5 separate regions of the Homo sapiens genome follow, and all the other regions are linked to region 1. The links are contacts of gene promoters, found by promoter capture Hi-C in human tissues and cell types (Jung and others, 2019). All regions are on one chromosome and are shown on one strand. The core of a region is centred on a gene start or on the middle of the fragment in contact, and the rest is flanking DNA. Distances in the headings are between cores, read along the strand shown.

Region 1 (2,587 bases), core at 26-2,525:
GCCCTGTTCAGGGTGACGAATATCTGTACAACAGCTATTTCAGAGGCTGAGGCAGGAGGATCAGTTGAGTCTGGGAGGTGGATGCTCCAGTGAGCCGTGATTGCACCACTGCACTCCAGCCTTGGTGACAGAGCCAGACCCTGTCTCAAATAAATAAAAATTAAAATTAAAGGAAAGAAAGCGTGGAAGCAGAAGTGGGTCCCATTGAACTTCAAGCCTTCAAGCTACAGCTGTGGCTGGACAGGTTGAACTAGCAGGCAGGAGCAGTCACCATCTTGGCAGGGATTAATGGCCCTGAACCATCATCAGGAAGAGGGAGTAGTGCTCTTATGCAGGGAGGGCAGGTGGAATATATGTGAACTCTGGTGATCTGTTTGGGTGCCACGTGTTACTCCCAGGTCCACCTGTGACATGAATGGACAAGTGCAGGAACCCTGACTTGAGAAAGATGTGGCCTTGAGGGGTTTAGACTTTTCAGGAATGAGAGTTTGGGTCACGGTAGCCAGGGAAACCACCAGGATTAACAGAGTTGATAGCTGAGAAGGAGGGGGGATTTGGAGGGGAGAGGACAGGAGGCACTGGTTGAGTACCAGGGGCAGCCTTGTGACCAAATGCACCAAGAGGGGCTGTCGTTTGACTCACTAACTTTCTGTAGCTCTATGCAGTACAAAAGAGCAGGAGATGAAAGAATGGCAAGTAGATTGGGAGCCGGAAAATAACTGGAATGAACCCACACATTCCTGATTGACATTGACAGTAATATACAGGTACAGGCAGGCAGAGGCGTTTTCTCTTCAACTGATTTTGAAATCATTCTCTCTGTTAGAGTACACAGCTATCTGAAGGTACACAGTGACCATCAACATTTACCAAGCTTTGGGCAAATGTTAAGTGTCATTGTTGTTGGTTTAATTTGATATTGTTCTCTATTGAATAATGTGCACAACAAATTTCTGGATTTTTATTAAAAGAGCATCTCCTGTGCTACATGCAAATATACAATCTGAGAAATTCTGACCCTGGCTATTAAAGTATAAAAAGGTTTCCTTGTCTCAGAACAATGTTAGAACAGACATCAACTCACTGCTTCTAGAAGAGCAGCCACTCCTTGATTTCACAAACTCAATAAACAGTCTCAGTTGTTGTTTAGTATCATTAGGAACTATTTTGACAGAGGTTTCTAGATCATGTCACAATGACATCAGATATCAAAGAAATGTGTAACAGGTTTGGTTATATGCAATGGCTACCCTCAACCCCCCAAGTTCCTGTCCAGTCAAATTCCCTCTGACCTGCTGTCTGCATCTGCCTCTCCAGAAACAGGGCAGACACAGGATTGTCAAACGTGCTTGCTTCCATGCTCTCTCCCTAATGGTGACATGGACTCTGTTCTCAATAAGCACCTCCCACCCCGCCCAAAGGTCCCTATCACCTCTCCCTGGCTCTGGGTCCACTTCTCTGTACCTTGGACATGGGCATAACATGTTGCCCATGAGGCACAGGATGAGTAGCAGGGGCAGCCCTGTGACCAGCTGCAGCAAGAGGGAGTGCTGTTTGGCTCACGACCCTTATGCAGCTCTATGCAGTACAAAAGAGCAGGGGAGAGAAGAATGGCAAGTGGAAGGGGAGGCAGAAAATAACCAGAACAAATGCACATATATGATCGTGGCCTTGGGTTTTCATTTCCTTGTGAGGGCTCCCGTGTCATGTAAAACTTACATTGACAGCTTTTATGATAGCTTTCCTCCTGCTAATCTATGTCAGTTTGAGTCTCAGGCCCAGCAAGGACCCTAAGGAGATAAAGTTTTGCCTCCCCTACACAGTCATTGCCCACTCCCACCCTCATCTTGAGTTAACCACTGATCTACTTTATGTCTAGAGTTCCCGTTCCTGGCATTTCATATGAAAGGAATTACACAGTATGTGGTCTTTTGTGTCTGACTGATGTCTTTCTCTGAGCATAATGTTTCTGAGGTTCATCCCCATTGTGACATGTGCCATTATGTTGTACCATTATGTTTTTATTCCTGAATATCACATTTTGTTTATCCGTTCACCCACTGATGGACGTTTGAGTAGTTTTCAGTTCAAAGCTATTCGAATAATTCTGCTCTAAACATTTGCCTCTAAGTCTTTATAAGGACATACGTTGTCATTTCTCTCGGCCTGCCTGCTCATTACACATTGGTGTTCCTGTGATTCTGAAACATGTACTCTTCTCTTACACAAAGTAGTATCTCCGTGTCATCTCTCCCAGTCCATGGCTACTGGGGACCACCTGTATACCTCACCCTGATCATAGAAACAGAAGTCCAGTCTCTCTATGTTTTCAAAGGCCTCCAAGATTTTCAACTCTTTCTCTCTTTCTCTTTCTTTTTCTCTTTTTCTTTTTCTTTCTTTTTTTCTTTCTTTCTCTCTCTCCCTCTCTCTCTCTCTCCCTCTCTCTCTCTCTCTCTCTCTCCCTCTCTCTCTCTTTCTTTTTTTTTTCAAGTCTCGCTCTGTGGCCCGTGGTGGAGGGCAGTGGCATGACCATGGCTCACAACCTCGACCTCCCCAGCTCAAGTGACCCTCCACCTCAGCCTCCTGA
Region 2 (2,587 bases), core at 39-2,538, 960 kb before region 1:
ACGATGGGCAGTGCCTGGGAATGGTGCAACAGGTACAACAGAAACAGGGTACAGGGACTGCCTGAAAATCGCACTTGGGTCCTAATCCTAGAATTGCCAACTGTGAGGGCCTGAGAAGTTGCTCTCTGTCTGTGCCTCAGTTACCCCACGAGTCTAGGTGTGGATACCACTGCGGGGGGAGGGGCAGGAAATCTCACCCACCCAGTCACTCACATCCTCTCTGCTCCACCTGGCTTTCCTCAAGTGCCCCTCCCCTAACTCAGCATCCCCAAGAGGCCACCTCCTGGACAGATAAGGATGAAGTTCACTGGTCCTGGACAGTGGACCCTCTCCTCAGCCCCACAGCTCCCAGGCAAAGCACCTGCAGCTGGCACCGCCTGCTTCCTGGGTGTTCTCAGCAGGCTGTCCGCTGCCATGGCTTGCTGGGAAGGGGAGTCTGTCTGCACAGGAGTGTTCGGCTCCCTGGTGAATTACCTGTGCATGTGGCCCCTCCTGTTTACCCTAAATTGAGGGAGTATAGTGTATGCTTCTACTGAATACAAGCACTCGCATACAGAAACAGGGATGAGGAGGCGAGTCGCAGTCTCTCATGCCACCCTACACCGCCAAAACAGCCAGAGGGGACAGCAGCCTCTTCAAGACCCTAGCTCCGTTATCTTCCACTAGGTGGCACCCCCCAACTCCGAGTGCCAAGGGGAGAGGAAATTCCCAAAAGGGGAGCCAACCTAGCTGCAAATGAGCAGGAAAAAGTGGCTGGGAGAGGCGGAAGCTAGCTCGTCCCACCCGCAACAAGAGGAAGTAAGGAGGAGCCAGACCAGGTTCAGTCACCACTCCCAAGTCCCTACTACCTTCGAGAAGCCAAGGTCTCAGGTCTCGTTCCCAGGCCCTCGGAGCTCCCAGCCCAGGGTCGCGCGCCCCTCCGGCTCCAGGCCGCCGCGGGAACCACCCACCACCACCAGGAGAGGGGAAGAAGCCAGCACCTACCGACAGGGGTGGAGCTGGGTCAAGAATGGTGTGGTCCCTGCTTTGGGGGAATGCTGGGGAGGTAGAAAGCCCCTTCTAACGGGGCGTCACTGCAATTACTGCTTCCTCTTTCCCATAAAACTCCCCCTAGTGTATCAGAACCCCCAAGGAGTTTCAGTAAGCGGTTCTTCTGTTGTCTCCGGCTGAGACTCCAGGGGAACCTCAAGCTCACATGGCCCTGGCGGGCCCCTGGGCAGGAGCAGGCGAGAGGTCTGCGCGGCCGCTCTCCTACCTGCGTCCGACTCCGCGGTCCTTGGGCAGCAGCAACCGGGTAGCGCTCAGACTACAGACCCCAGCGCGATGACCCGCCTACCTCAGTTTCCATTGGCCAGGGATCAGGGCTACCCGCTCCCATTGGCTACTTATCAATATAGAGGTGGGGCCAGCCTGGAATGCTGTGTTTCTTTTCTACTCAAATCACTCTCCTCCCTGCTTCCTCTCGCCCCACACCCCATTTCTAGGGATCATGTGATTGGAGAATCATGTGACGTCGGGACAGCCTCAGCAGGGCAGCTGGTGCTCGTCGCCTTCCTTAACCCATCCTGCAGGCGCCTGGGGGAGTTTGCTAGAGATGATAGCGCGTGTCTGGGGCATTGACAGTGCGAGGGAGTGTTATGAATTGGGAATATTTGTGCTCGCCTTTCTATCCTTTTGTTTGTTTGTTCTGAGACGGAGTCTCACTCTGTCGCCAGGCTGGAGTGCAGTGGCACGATCTCGGCTCACTGCAACCTCTGCCTCCCGGGTTCAAGCGATTCTCCTGCCTCAGCCTCCCGAGTAGCTGGGACTACAGGCGCGCACCACCACGCCCAGCTAATTTTTGTATTTTTAGTAGAGACGGGGTTTCACCATGTTGGCCAGGATGGTCTCGATTTCTTGACCTCGTGATCCGCCCACCTCGGCCTCCCAAAGTGCTAAGATTACAGGCATGAGCCACCGCGCCCGGACTTGTGTGTTTGTTTTAGAGACAGGGTCTCGCTCAGTCGCCCAAGCTGATCATAGCTCACTGCGGCCTGCAACTCCTGCTCCCAAAGCGATTCTCCTACCGCAGCCCCCCAAGGCGCTGGGATTACAAATGTGAGCTACTGAGCTGGCTCGCTCCTATCCTATCCTGCCCTGTCTTGTCCTGTCCTGTCCTGCCCTATTCTGCCCTATTCTCCAAACTCGGTTGACATGCTAGGCAGGCCCCAGAGTGAGTTGAAGGATGGTTTCCAGGACAAAGATAAACAGCCCCAAAGCCCTTTCCTCAAGGTGCTCAGCAGGACAGGGAGCAGGGATTGGTGGGAGACAGTCTCAGGCTGAATCTAATTTAAGATACAAGGTTGTGCGCCAGTTGCCAGGTGTAGGGAGAGGAAGTAGATTGTCTCCAGGTGGGGAAGAAGAGATTTCATTCCACCTTAGGAGCATCTCCTTGAGCTGAGTCTGGGAAGATTTTAACTGGCAGGTGGAGGAGGAGGTGTTGGGAAGAGCCCTGGGAAACCAGATGGGAAGGGCAGGCTTGGCAGGGATTGAATGCCATGTTCAATGCCAGTGGGCTTCAGGAGCTGCTGGGTGCCTGGCACGGGCT
Region 3 (2,587 bases), core at 44-2,543, 680 kb before region 1:
ATTGGTGGTAGTAGGGCTTGAAAATGCACGCTCATAGTCCTTTGCATAAGATTAAGAAAACGACTGTTTTGTACATCAGACGGACATTCAAGGGCAGGGGCGCAAAACCCCTCCTCCAAGCCCCTTTTTGTCACTATCCGCTGCTCCTCATTCCTGCCTTTTGCCTGGCTTTCTGGGAGAGAGGGCAAAAAGGGAGAAGGGGAAGTGTCTTGACTTCTAAGAGTGATGGGTGACTAAGGGGGAACTACCATTTATTAAAGACCTAGTACATGCCATGCACTTATACCCGTTACCGCATTTAAACCTCCTAACTATGAGGTAGGTATTATTATGTAACAGAGTATAGCAGTAAATAGCACCGTCCTTGGAAATAGGCAGACTGTTTTTGCTAGTTGTGGAACCGTGGACAAGTTTAGTCTAAAACTTAGTTTATGTAAAAGGAGGACATTGATTCCTACCTCAAAGGGCTGTTAGATGCTCAAGAAGTGACAATACAAATGCCTATGAAGAAACAGGATCAGGTAATTTGCTTGCTCAAGGTCAGGTGATTTAGTAAGAGGCTGACCTCGGATTCTGGTTCCAGCTTATCTAACTCCACAGCCAATGTTCTTTCCACTATCACTCAGTAGTTATAATCATCTTTTTTTGTTTGTTTGTTTGTTTTGAGACAGAGTCTCGCTCTGTTGCCCAGGCTAGAGTGCAGTGGCACAATCTTGGCTCAGTGCAACCTCCGCCTTCCAGGTTCAAGAGATCCTCCAGCCTCAGTCCCCCTAGTAGCTGGGATTACAGGCACGCGCCACCGTACCCGGCTAATTTTTGTATTTTTAGTAGAGACGGGGTTTCACCATGTTGGCCAGGCTGGTCTCGAACCCCTGACCTCAGGTGATCCACCCGCCTCGGCCTCCCAAAGTGCTGGGATTACAGGCGTGAGCCACCGCTCCCAGCCTTATAATCATCTTGTCCAAGTATCGTTAAGTCCTCTGAGGCTCTGATTCCTCATATGCAAAATGGGGTTAACATATTTTATAAAATTCATTCATTAAACTCTTGTGTGGAAGGTGTGCATATAATGGAGACTGCAGCTCCCTCCTCTTTCCCCTTTTCATTCCACGTAGGTCATTTATCCTTAACTTCTAAAATGGACTCTACAAGCACTTAACCGAGCGGACGCAGCTATACAAATACTTTTCAGATTCCCCTTTATTTCCTCTTCTTTCCCACTCCACCTAGGATCCCGCCCCAACCAGCGCCAGGCCACGCCCCGGCGTGTGACGCAAGCACGCTCCGTGCGCGCCGTCGCGTCGCGGCGCTCACTGGGGGCCCGGCTTTCGCCCGCTGCTGCCGCCGCCGCCGCCGGCCGCGGCTGCACTCCCAAGATGGCGGCTCCTCCGGGCGAGTACTTCAGCGTTGGGAGCCAGGTGTCGTGCCGGACGTGCCAGGAGCAGCGGCTGCAGGGCGAGGTGGTAGCCTTTGACTACCAATCCAAAATGCTGGCTTTAAGTATCCTTCCCTGCGTGAAGCCCGAGTCCGGGCCGGCGTGTAGGTGCGGTGGTCGGGGGGTGGGGGACGACGGCGGCGGCTGGGGCTCTCTCCGGGCCTAGGGGCGACCGGCTACCGCGGCGCCCGGGGCGCATGCGCACGGCCCTGAGCTCCCCTCCCCCTCCCGCGGGCCCTTCGGTCAGCTTTGGGGATCCTGTCTCTCTCTCTTTGCGGGAGCTGGGGCTTTACCGAGGATCAGTGGGTGGAGGAGGGCTTGACACGGGGATGGCTTTTTGGGGGGAACGTTATGAGAGGGGACACAGTAATTAGGAGAGGGGGTGGTGGTGGGAGGGGGCTGATGGATTGGAGCCCGGATGGAAAGGAGGGGCGGGTGAAATATTATGGGGAGGGGTGTTTAGGGTAAGGAACTGCTGGTAGGGCAAAGGTATGGAATTTAGGAGGGCATGTGCACTGATGGGATTTCGTCCAAGGAAGGGCGGTGGGATGGTGACCAAATTGGTCCTTGCCTGTTTTGGGGGAGAGTAAGTTCAGGGCAGAGTTTGTATCTGAGCTAGGGATAGTGGCTTGTTTCGCTGATGCGTGTGTATGTGTGGTGGGGGGGCTGTGCTGATTTTTAGGCTTCTCGGTCATTTGGAAGTTGCTGTTTAGGGGATGTTTGCACTGGAAACCTGTTCCAGAGAGGGCTTGCCAGGGGCTTATGTGGTTTGGGGATGTGTGAGTTACAGGTGAAAGAGTGAAGTTCTCATGCTGCCTTGATCAGTCCAGCACATGGAGTCCTTTTACGTAGTAGCAGCCTCCCTTTTGAAAGTAGCAATGTTAAACTGATTGGAAAAGGTGGCCTGCTTCTTTGGGGTGGAAGTGACTTCTGAATTACTCCAGGAAACTCAGTCTTGGAAATGAAACACTTCCTTGTTGGGATAAATGTGCCACGGCTTCCCTTTTTATGTGAGCCACAGGTGGGTTTATTGGAATTTTTTTTTGGAGGAGTAATTTTTTATGGCATCTTTTTTTTTTTTTTTTTTTTAAGATGGAGTCTCGCTCTGTCGCTAGGATGGAGTGCGGTGGCGCAATCTCGGCTCACTGCAAC
Region 4 (2,587 bases), core at 31-2,530, 620 kb before region 1:
GAGCCGGCTCGGCAGCGCGTAGCACAGACCCGCCGCCAAAAAATGGCACAGCAGCGGCGGCGTTGTGTCGAAGCGCGTCTACCAGCACCTTGCAGCTCTTGGCCAGCTGCGCCTTGGCCTCCCAGAAGGAAAGACAGCCCGAGGGAGCCGTAGGGGCCGGCAGCCCCAGGACCACCAGCGGCTTCATGTCCATGCGCTGCAAGAAGGCCAGGGCAAAGGCCAGACTGGATACGCCCTGCTGGCACTTGAGCACCTCCTCGTCCACCTGCGGAGGAGTGGGCTTTCAAGGAGCGTGACACGGACCTGAGCCGCTGGCTCCCACAGCCTGGCCTGCAGGGCCGTCTCGGTGACCCTACCCTTCCAGAAGCTGTCAGGACCCAGTTCTGGCCACCAGTGCCCACCTGCTCCGCCCTTTGCCCCGTTGGGTCTTGCCACTCCCTTGTCTCACGCTGGGGTACCTCCCGCCCTCCTCCCTCCGACCTTGGACTCCGGGACATCTTTGGGGGAGGGGCAGTGCAAGCGGCTCCTGTCCAGGTCCTTCTGAACCCCTAACTGCGCCCATGTTGGGGGCCTTCTTCAGAGCATCACACCTGGCGGGTGGGGTCCCCCAGGATCCTCACTCGGGCTGGGCGGGAGGCTTCCGGAGGAGCTTACGGCCTCTCCCATTCCCGGCGGCGCTGGTCTGGGCCCTGCCGGGCTCCTTCCCGCTTCCGCTGCGCAGAGCCCGCAGCGTATCCTGCCATGCCTGAGGACAGGTGGCCGCACAACCCCATCCCCTCGCTGCGTCACGGCCCACGCCGGGCTCCGCTCACCTCGATGACGGCGAAGGGCTTGTCCGCGGAGTGATGGCAGGTCTGGAACTGCGTGAGCCAGTGGCGCGCCTCCCCAGGGCTGGCCCCGCACTGGTTCAGGAAGGCCTGGATGTCCCGCTGCACCAGCGAGCGGCCCGAAGGAGGCTCTGGGGACTCGTGGGGCACCGGGGGCCTGGGACTCGGCACCCACGACGGCTCCTCGGCGACGGGCGACTGGGAGACGTCGTCCGCGCCCGCGTACTCCTCGGGCGGGGGCTGGGGCTGCGACCAGGCGGTGCTGAGCCGGCGCCCCGGGCTGGTGCCCCTCGCCGCCCGCCGCCGCGCGCCACAGCTCAGCCTTCGGGCGCCCCCAGTGCCTCCCCGGCCTCTCAGCCTCGGGGCTACAGCAGCTGCCCGCAGAACCACAGCCATCAGCGCCGTCGCCATGACGACAACCAACTCTTGCCCCCCAAGAGTGGCAGTCTGTCTGGAGCGTCTGGCACTGGGGGGCTCTTAACTTGCCGTTGGGCGGGGCTGGACCTGGTCGGGGCGGGGTCCGGACAGGGGACCAGGAGTCTCCTCTGGGTGCGTTTGAGGAGGGTCAGGCCATGAGTCAGGGGGCGGGGCCACTAGGCTCCCCCGCCCCTGGAGGAACTGAACCCACTATCGGTCATGGGGCCGAGACTAAATGTGGCGGGTTGTCTTTAATCTGCTGCCAAGGTAGGTTCCAGGGGCGGCTTTGGGAGTCTGCAGGGCCTTGGATGATTGGCATTCTGACCAGAGAAGAAGGGACTGTAGGTGGCTTTGAGCACAGGGCTGGGCAGGGGGCTGGAAGGAGGGCGCTGGAAAGAGTAGAAGAAGGGGGGCAGTGGGAGGGCGGGGGCGGGTGGTGCTGGCCTTGTCTGTCCTGTTGCCTGAGCTCAAAAAAGATCCTAATGAATGACCATGAGGTTACCAGGGTTTGCCAAACTCCAGTCACTGGGTACCAGCTTGAGGAATTCTGTGATATCCTCAAAACACCCCTCAAAACTTATAATACTTTAGTGTTAATGCTTTTCTTTATCGAATATCACATCTGGTAAAAATAAAATAAAATAGAGTTTTTTATTTTGGTTTTTGAGATAGGGTCTCACTCTGTTGTTGCCCAGGCTGCAGTACAGTGGTGCAATCATAGCTCACTGCAGCCTCCACCTCCCAGGTTCAAATGATCCTCCTGCCTCAGTCTCCCTAGTAGCTGGGACCACAAATGCACACCACCATGCCCAGCTGATTTAAAAAAAAATTATTTTTTTTGAAGACGGGTGTTCACCATGTTGCCCAGACTGTTCGTGAACTCCTGAGCTCAAGCAGTCCTCCCACTTCTGCCTCCCAAGGTGCTGGGATTACAGGTGTGAGCTACTTCACTCGACCTCTGTAACCCTTTTTTTTTTTTTTTTTTTTGTTTGTTTGTTTGTTTGAGATGGAGTCCCACCCTATTGCCCAGGCTGGAGTGCAGTGTTGCGATCTCGGCTCACTGTAATCCCCGCCTTCTGGGTTCAAGCGATTCTCCTGCCTCAGCCTCCTGAGTAGCAGGGATTACAGGCAGACACCATCACACCCGGCTAATCTTTGTATTTTTAGTAGAGACAGGGTTTCACCATGTTGGCCAGGATTGTCTCAAACTCCTGACCTCGTGATCCACCTGCCTCAGCCTCCCAAAGTGCTGGGATTACAGGCGTGAGCCACCACGCCCGGCCCTCTTTAACCTTTTTAAACTTAAAGTTTATCCATGTTAGGTCTGTAACTAGGCCAGTATC
Region 5 (2,587 bases), core at 28-2,527, 520 kb before region 1:
GGAACCCAGGGACCAGTCCCCTGCTTTCGGGATAGATTCCCATTTCTGAGATTTCCAAGCAAGTTTCCAGAATGTAATCCATTTCTTTTCTTTTTGTTTCTTTTGAGACAGGGTCTCACTCTGTTGCCCAGGCTGGAGTGCGGTGTTGCAATCTCGGCTCACTGCAGCCTCAGCTTCCCAAGTAGCTGGGACTACAGGCGCGCGCTACCACGCCCAGCTAATTTTGTTTATTTTATTTTTTGTAGCGATGGGGTTTCACTATGTTGCTTGGGCTAGTCTCGAACTCCTAGGCTCAACCGATGCTCCCGCCTCCGACTCCCAAAGTGTTGGGATTATGGGAGTGAGCCACCGCGCCCGGCCAAAGATGCAGTCCATTTATGATCTTAGGAATCCAGTTAGCAAGGAAAAGGGATGACTCTCACATTTTGTTCAGGGCAACTGGACGGGGTGGCTGAACGCCGAGGTCGGAGAAGTAGCGTAGCTGGCCCCAAATGCTAGTCGCACTGCACAGAGCCTCCCGTATTTGGAGGCCCAGCATCTTTTACTAGCAGATGTGGGGTGGAGCCGGAGGCTGGGCGAAGGCGGGCCAGTGGGTTTAACCCTTTATTTACTTTTTGGGCTGGGACTCTGAGGAAGGCTAGCCAGTTACTTCTTTATTCCATAGGCAGGAAAATGGACCAGGCCTCCCTCACCTAGACCTAAAAGAGGCTCTCGAATCCTTTCAGGAAGACATTTCCTCTTTTTTGCAAAATTTCTGGAAAGTCTGGAATCCGGATATCCACCCTCTGAGTCCTTAAAAAGCTGCCCCTGATCCCGAGGCCTTCTGGGGCTGGTATCCTGCTTCCTGGGAGTCTCTCTGAAGTCCTCCTATTCTTTTTCTCAATATGGAAGCAGGATAACGAGGAAAAGTGAGGCACGCCTGGAACTAGAACGCCGGTCTAAGCCAAGATGGGTGGGCGGAGTAATCAAGCCGGTCTCATTAGGCACTTTTACCATCGCCCCTTTAAGGGATCCTTGGGAGCCGAGGGGCACCAGCGGGTACTGGTACCAGTCCTGCCTCCCTAACCCTTCCCAGTGGGACTCCAGCAGGGCGTCGTGGTCTGTGCGGTGTCTCCCAAACCACTACCTGGCTGCCCCCGTACCAGCTGCTGGGAAAGACTACTTCCTCCGAGTTGTGCCGGCCTCCGCGTTCTCCTCACCTCCCCTCTCCTCCGGACCTCCGCCCCCTCGCGGAGAGGCCTTGCCGCTTTAAGAGCCGGGCTAGCGATTGACAAGCAATAAACGCTGAGCGCCCGGCTGCGCTGGAGCCGCCCGGAGCTAGGGGCTTCCCGGGGCGCAGGTAGGCGTCCCCCGGCCCCCGGGCCAGCTCCTATCCCAAGACCTCCGCCTTCTTTTCGTCCTGACACGGCACTTAGGACCCTATTCACTGGGTTTAAACTCCACAGGCCCCTTTCACCCAGGCCCGTTCCCTCCCTGTCCACCCGCCCCCGCCCCTGGGCCCTCTTTCTGGGGTGCTGGTTGGGAGAACCAAGCCCCGCTGCCCATTGACACTGGTCCCCGCCCCTGCGGTAGGGGCTCCAAAGTGGCTTCAGGCACCAAGGTGGTGAGCTGTGAGGGGCCCCGGTATCTGCGCGGCCTCCCCGGGGGCTGTGCGGGTTGGGGGTACTTAGAAGCCCGGCATTACGTAAGAACCGTGCTGTTAGCGCTTCCGGGGGTTGGGGAGCGAGACAGAGGTTGCGCTGGGTCCCGGTGGCCCCCTGGTCCCCCTAGGCAGCTAACACCACAATCTTCCCTGGGAGGGGGTCCGCAGAAGGGCGCGCGCTGCTTCTCCCGCTTCCCAAGCTGTAGCGGGGCGGGTCGGGAGCCAGGGTTAGGGTCTGGAGACTTGGGAGGGGACCGGTGCCAGAAGCGAAGAGCTAGGGTTAGAAAGTTAGGTCAATTAAGGGGGGGGCGGTGCGGATAAAGACGGGGTGGGGGTTGGCCGGGGCAGTCATTTAGTGACCTCATCCCTGGTCTCCGGCGGGCGCGCACGTAGAGAGCCTTCTTTGATGGCTCACAACACGCCCCCCTCCCCCAGGTCCTAGCGCCCAGGGTGTTAGGGCTGGGTCCGTTGGGGCAGGGGTGATCTGATGGTCCAAGCATGCACGTCCGCCTGGCCTTTCGACCCCATCCTCTGGCCCTCAGTTCTGTCCAGACCTCCCCGCGACCTCTCGCTCTCCAAAGCGCCTTTGTCAGACCTTTCTTCTCCGCACCTCTTTGTATGTGTATGGATGGAGGGATGGGTGGGAGGTTGGAAGAAACCTCTCCCTTTCACTGCTGGTCCGCTCGCCTGCGGACACTATGGGTGATGTGGATATCTCGGAGGCAGAGCTGAGAGGGCATCTGGGCCCAGGCTTTTGGAAGCCGAGGTGCAGGTTCCCAGATGTCTGGGTGCAGGACCTTGGCACGGAGCCAGGCTAGCTTGCCTGGCACTGCCGTTCTCCTGTGGACACAGCCAGGCCCCGCCCTCTCAGAGGCTTGGACGGGCGTGGGGGAGCAAAGCCAGCCGATGCTCTGGGAACCGATTCCCCGGGAGAAAACCCAGGCA

What was found. Contacts are between HindIII fragments. The study calls those that stand out against the background at their distance.
Region 2: the fragment with the promoter of GRN here is called in contact with a fragment that was not itself captured in region 1 in 2 of the 25 tissues and cell types used here (dorsolateral prefrontal cortex and hippocampus).
Region 3: a contact is called between the fragment with the promoter of LSM12 here and a fragment that was not itself captured in region 1, in 4 of the 25 tissues and cell types used here (bladder, dorsolateral prefrontal cortex, hippocampus and 1 more).
Region 4: the fragment with the promoter of NAGS here is called in contact with a fragment that was not itself captured in region 1 in 4 of the 25 tissues and cell types used here (dorsolateral prefrontal cortex, hippocampus, spleen and 1 more).
Region 5: a contact is called between the fragment with the promoter of MPP2 here and a fragment that was not itself captured in region 1, in 2 of the 25 tissues and cell types used here (hippocampus and spleen).

What each region holds. Positions count from the first base shown.
Region 1 is chr17:43,383,431-43,386,017 of GRCh38, reverse strand. All of the region lies in intron 1 of LINC00910 (long intergenic non-protein coding RNA 910), which reads left to right. Among named protein-coding and RNA genes, the nearest start is that of LINC00910, 4.2 kb to the left of the region's middle. The HindIII fragment of the contact is 7,633 bases long and covers 1-2,587 here.
Region 2 is chr17:44,344,003-44,346,589 of GRCh38, reverse strand. It overlaps GRN (granulin precursor), which reads right to left and starts at 1,288. Exons shown (of 13, transcript NM_002087.4): 1 at 1,256-1,288. RefSeq lists enhancers at 1,016-1,165, 2,317-2,587. The HindIII fragment of the contact is 17,447 bases long and covers 1-2,587 here.
Region 3 is chr17:44,065,377-44,067,963 of GRCh38, reverse strand. It overlaps LSM12 (LSM12 homolog), which reads left to right and starts at 1,293. Exons shown (of 5, transcript NM_001371445.1): 1 at 1,293-1,500. The coding sequence starts at 1,377. RefSeq lists silencers at 1,211-1,330, 1,621-1,760. The HindIII fragment of the contact is 14,418 bases long and covers 1-2,587 here.
Region 4 is chr17:44,003,315-44,005,901 of GRCh38, reverse strand. NAGS (N-acetylglutamate synthase) reads right to left here and starts at 1,280. Exons shown (of 7, transcript NM_153006.3): 1 at 813-1,280; 2 at 1-265. The coding sequence starts at 1,238. It also overlaps a transcript of PYY not described here. RefSeq lists an enhancer at 1-357. The HindIII fragment of the contact is 21,260 bases long and covers 1-2,587 here.
Region 5 is chr17:43,906,226-43,908,812 of GRCh38, reverse strand. MPP2 (MAGUK p55 scaffold protein 2) reads left to right here and starts at 1,277. Exons shown (of 13, transcript NM_005374.5): 1 at 1,277-1,339. RefSeq lists an enhancer at 1,118-1,267. The HindIII fragment of the contact is 11,562 bases long and covers 1-2,587 here.